2 separate regions of the Homo sapiens genome follow, and region 1 is linked to region 2. Evidence: promoter capture Hi-C in human tissues and cell types (Jung and others, 2019). All regions are on one chromosome and are shown on one strand. Each heading gives the region's core, a stretch centred on a gene start or on the middle of the fragment in contact. The rest is flanking DNA. Distances are from core to core; before and after follow the strand shown.

Region 1 (2,767 bases), core at 94-2,593, 580 kb after region 2:
TGGATCTATTTGGTTTAAAAAGTATTCTATCTTAAGGCCAACTAATATAAAATACCATTGTTAAAGAATGGTACTTTTATAAACATTAGTGTATTTATTTCCTATGTGTTAATATGAAGATCAGAAATTATTTTTTGCACTTTGGCATAAATACTTTTCAATATCTGATTTGTTCTCTGGATAAATTAGCATAGTTATTTTTTTATTCACATTTACATTTCTAAGTAGTTGTATAGTAGAAGCAGGAAGCTCTTATTGCTTATTTGGTCGTAATGAAAATAATTTGTAAAATGTCCTTTAAAAGTTTAATGATACTTCTGATGTTTCGGAACAGTCATTTCACCTACTATTTCTGAATATATTTTGCAAATTGAATTGGAATAGGAATTGATAATAGCAGTCTTAAACATTAGTAGTGGGATTTGGCTATGGTCCAGACTGTGCTCCTTATAGAGAATTTGATCTGCTCAGTGTGAGCGGTTTGCTGTTAGCCAGGGCTATTTATGGCAAACACATGCTTTTGTATCTTGTCATAGTTATCCACAAATGGCAAAACTGGACTTGATTCTACTGGTATGCAAAACAGGCATGCTAGTAAGCAGTCAGTCGTGGCTCAGAACTTAACCCCATAGCTCAGAGGAATGCTTTTAGCAGAAAACAGGAAAGAAAATATCCCTTAAAAATTTTTTTTGAATGTGTGGAAGTAATTTTAGTATAATTAGATTTTTTCCATATTTTTGAAAGATTTTTCAGATGTGAACATTAAAAATAGGGATTAAATGTCTAGGCTTCCATTTAAAATTATATGAATGGTTTGGGATCTTTTTGCACTGAGCAATTTTATTTCAGGCTTCCAGCTGTCCCTGTGAGTTATCCTGGACATTTCGATGGTTTTTGGTAAGGCCAAACTCTGATAAGCAAAACAGAGAATACTGACGTATACTTAACCATATGTGTAACTGATACTTGGCACCATGGAATTTTTCATTGAGTTATTTCCTCATTCTTTTAAAAAATAAGGGACTATAAATCAGTTATGTAGTATCTTTTGTTTTTGTAGCTGATTCCTTAACTTTCTTGTATGCCTCTAGTAATTTCAGAGATTAAATATTGCTTTAAACTGTGATACTTTGATTTGCTAGATTGACAAAACTGATACTAATATAATTAAGTTCATCTTTGAAATACATCTTTGTGCGTAGAGCCAAAAAAAGAGATAAAATTAATAATAGTTCACTTGTTATTTGAGATTAATTTGGCATTTGAAATGATCATTTTATTTTACAATCATTTATAATGAATCAATGTTCCAGTTAGCTTTAAAAGGTATACGGTGCTAATTAGTAAAATATTGAAGGCAATATTTTACTGCTAGCTTGCAAAGTTATGAGAGTTTAAAAAATAAAATATATGAAAATATGTAAAGCTGTTGAGATGTGTTTACTTATACTTCAGAACATTAAAAGTTTAAAAACTGGTATTTCAGATCAAAGAGGCATCATTATCTTTATTCTGTTTTTCAGGATTTTAGTTGGTAATACTTTCTCATTTATCAATAACAATTTTCTTTAAAAACTGAGTGTTACAGCAATTAATTTTAGCATTTTCAGACAAATGGGAACAGTTGGCATGTGTCCCAAACTGGCTATCAGCTGTTGTTTTCCATCATTATCTAAAATAGTGTGGCCAGCATTGTGTATTGAAATGTGCCTTTTTCGTACATTGGAAGAGAAGCCTCTTACTGGGTTTGAGTTTCTCTGATACAGAACATTTGTAGCAGCTAATTTATGGAATCTGGCAAATAAGCTTTGGGAGGAAATTCTTTTAAAAGTGTTTTCTTGTTAAGGAATAATCTCAACAATGGTAAATCATCAAGAGGTTGAGAAGACTCTTAGGTTTGCCACTCAGAAAAAACAGTCTCATTTTGCTCTTCATAGGTCCTGTTTTTGCTTGCACATTTAATAGTAGGTGGAGATGCAAAACAACGTGAATGTTCATTTTTTTATGAATAGTATTAAAGCTACTAGAGGTGGGCAGGCAGGTCCCAGTAAATGTTGCCTTTTTTTTTTTTTTTTTTTGAGACAGGGTCTCACTCTGTTGCCCAGGCTGGAGTGCAGTGTCAAAATTTCAGCTCACTTCAAACTCAACCTTCCCAGCTCAGATGATCCTCCCACCTCAGCCTCCCAAGTAGCTGGGACTACAGGCATGCACCACCATGCCTAATTTTTTTTTTTTTTTTTTTTGTATCTCTTTTGTAGAGACTGAGTTTGGCCATGTTGCCTAGGCTGATCTCCAACTCCTGGGCTCAAGCTGTCCTCTGACCTCCGCCTCCCAAAAGTGCTAGGATTGCATGCATGAGCCACCACTTCAAAAGCTCAAATACTGCTTTTGAAGACAGCATGAGTTTATGGATGTTCTGTCTCCTTTCAGCCCATAAAGAAGTCTGAGGCTTTTCTTTTGCTCTGGAACATCCAACTAATTGCTTTATTTCCATGTAGAAGTAGAGGAATCATCCCTCCACTTAAATTTCCTCTCATAATGCAATTTGGCAAATTAAATCTCTAAATCTCAGTTTTTTAACCCATAGTATGGGAACGGTAATATCTGTTTACCATGTTTCCTGAGTACTAAATATGGAAATGGTTTTTGAAAACAGGAAAATGCTATGTAAATGCAATAATCTGTTTAAACTATTCATTCTTAATTACTGTATGTAAGTAGATAAATATTAAATGTTTTTGTTAAAAGATGTATTACAGATCATTGA
Region 2 (2,842 bases), core at 273-2,772:
TGGACTTCACAATACAGTATATAGAAACAAAGTAAAGGTCTCAGAGTGACTTTTCCTGTTCACATATTAAAAATCACGAATGGAACGCTGAAAGCAGTAGTCTAATATACGAAAATTATTTAAAACTCAGGAATTTAATACAATAAATGAAAATTCTTTGAGGATACAGTTATCTCTTTGTTCTATCTTTAATCATGTTTTTCAATTGGGGATAAATTAAAAGGGCTACTGAATTATCCAACAAGATGTTTCTTGCTACATTATATACACTATGCAGTAATACACTGAGCAGTTTCATTCCAAGTTATCTTTAACTCTATTTCTAAAATTTACAGGTGAAGAGAACCTCATTTACAGACCAACTCTCTCCTTATGATTCCAAGCACAGATGATTATATTACTGTGCAAGACACGGAGCCACTAAACTCATTCAAAAATAAAACCATCACGGACCAGATGTAAATCAAGCCCTCCTGACACTAAATTCTCTATGGTAAGAGATCAAGGGTCTGGCTTATAATCATAACCTAAACCTTGACACCGTTTCAGCGCAATACATTACTATTCCGAGTAACTGATAGTTTCTTTCCACTACAGGTGTTCTTCAGTAAACTAGTACACAGTACCTCATCTACAACTCAGAATCGGCATTTAAATTACAGGAGCATTCAAACAGATGTGGGTAAAAAGGGGATGCCAATCTCAAGAGCAGCTCTAGAATTGAGTCACTCATTCTATCAGATTCCCAAAGATGTCTTGAACTCTGTAGATATTTGTAAATTGGCACTTTTAATTTTTTTTATCCGTTTGTTTAACGTATCTGTCACTCTAAGCTGTGAGCTTCAGTATAGAAGAGGGTGTAACATTCACATTTGTATCTCCTAGGACTAGCAGTGTCTGGTATATAGCAGGCTTCGAGTGCCTGTGTGGAATTAACCACAGAAGTCCATGCTGCAAACAAAGGAAAACGGAGAGGAGGCATTTTAGTTGAGACGTTAAGGAATCAATTACCCTTTAGAAACAGACCTTGTGCCTGGCCAGGACAGAATACAATAACTGAAGGGGCCTCACGAAGCCGGAGTCAGGCATTACAGCCCTATCTTCCTTAACTCTCCATTGGGTCTACGCAGTGTGGCCGCTCGCCCTGCAGAGACAGGCCTTCAGGCCCCCGATCCCTGCGTCCAGACGGGGGTGCAAACACCACAGAGCTCAATCCAGCTTCAGCCGTTCTCCCTTCCCAGCTCCAGCCCAGCTTCGGCCCCAGACTAAACCCGGGCCGCGTCTGCTCGCTCCAGGCACGTACCATGACAGGGCAATTCAGGTGGCCCACAGGCGAACCTGGTTCACTCACCTACTTGGTAGAGCCGACCCTCGGGTGAAAAAATGGTAATGTGGCGGTCAAAACCGGCGCTGGAACCACGGGACATGTTGGTAGAAGCACTACTTTAAACACAATCCCTGGGCCCCGTAGCTCCCGCACCAGGCACACAAGCACCTCCCGGAAGTTGCAGCGACTGCTTCCGGGGTACCAGCCGCGTTTCTTCCGCTCTTGCATGCCGAACTCACGGCTCTGGAGCCAGTTCGAGCACTGAGCTCTGAGGCCCCGCCCCCTAAGGGGGTGGTGGAGTGAGGGCGGGAGGCCTTTGAAGGTATGCGCCTGCGCCAAGCAGGCCTCTTGAGTGGATAGACGTGAAACTTGGGTCGTGGCGCTTTCAGGCTTTCATCTGGAGAATGAATTGACTATAGCAAGGACGAAAAGGCTTCCTGGGGGCCCAGAATAGCGATTTGCCTATCAGTGTGACCTAAATAGAACGTGTAATTAACAAGTCTCTTACATGCATCCTGTGTCTGGTCAGACTGCTGGCTTGCCTTCTTCCTAACCTCTTTTATCCTCCACTTTCATTCCTATTACGGGGGAAACAGGTTGCAGCTGCAGCTGCAGCCGTTAAATTTAGGCACTGAAGGAAGCGGGTTCAAGCAGCCGCTGGAAAGAACATTATTTTCTGACAGCCAGGCAAGATCTTCTTTTGGCCAGCAGCCCCGACAATTTTTAGTCTTTTTTTTTTTTTTTTTTTTTTTTGAGACAGAGTTTCGCCCTTGTTGCCCAGGCTGGAGTGCAATGGCGCGATCTCGGCTGACTGCAACCTCCCCCTCCTGAGTTCAAGCGATTCTCCTGCCTCATCCTCCCGAGTAGCTGGGATTATAGGCGTGTGCCACCAGGACCGGCTAATTTTGTATTTTTAGTAGAGGCGGGGTTTCGCCATGTTGGTCAGGCAGCTCTCGAACTCCTGAGCCCAAGTGATCCACCTTCCTCGGCCTCCCAGAGTGCTGGGATTACAGGCTTGAGCCACAGTGCCCAGGCAATTTTTAGTCTTGAAAGCGGAGGCCGGGCGCGGTGGCTCACGCCTGTAATCCCAGCACTTTGGGAGACCAAGGCGGGCGGATCACGAGGTCAGGAGATTGAGACCATCCTGGCTAACACGGTGAAACCCCGTCTCTACTAAAAAATACAAAAAAAATTAGCCAGGCGTGGTGGCGGGCGCCTGTAGTCCCATATACTTGGGAGGCTGAGGCAGGAGAACGGCGTGAACCGGAGAGGCGGAGCTTGCAGTGAGCCGAGATCATGCCACTGCACTCCAGCCTGGGCGACAGAGCGAGACTCCGTCTCAAAAAAAAAAAAAAAGAAAGAAAGCCTAACTCCAGCCTGGCCAACATAGGAAGGCCCCGTCTCTACAAAAAATAAAATTAGCTGTGCGTGGTGGCGCGCGCCAGTAGTCCCAGCTACTCGGGGGGCTAAGGTGGGAGGATGGCTTGAGCCCAGGAGATCCAGGTTGCAGTGAGC

The links. Contacts are between HindIII fragments. The study calls those that stand out against the background at their distance.
Region 1: a contact is called between a fragment that was not itself captured here and the fragment with the promoter of PSMA6 in region 2, in 1 of the 25 tissues and cell types used here (dorsolateral prefrontal cortex).

The regions. Positions count from the first base shown.
Region 1 is chr14:34,709,099-34,711,865 of GRCh38, reverse strand. CFL2 (cofilin 2) reads left to right here. Exons shown (of 4, transcript NM_138638.5): 4 at 1-2,753. Among named protein-coding and RNA genes, the nearest start is that of CFL2, 4.1 kb to the left of the region's middle. The HindIII fragment of the contact is 3,096 bases long and covers 1-2,767 here.
Region 2 is chr14:35,291,062-35,293,903 of GRCh38, reverse strand. PSMA6 (proteasome 20S subunit alpha 6) reads right to left here and starts at 1,522. Exons shown (of 7, transcript NM_002791.3): 1 at 1,352-1,522. The coding sequence starts at 1,427. The region is part of intron 9 of PRORP-PSMA6 (PRORP-PSMA6 readthrough); the gene reads right to left. RefSeq lists enhancers at 1,059-1,118, 1,199-1,318, 1,439-1,518, 1,235-1,821. The HindIII fragment of the contact is 27,585 bases long and covers 1-2,842 here.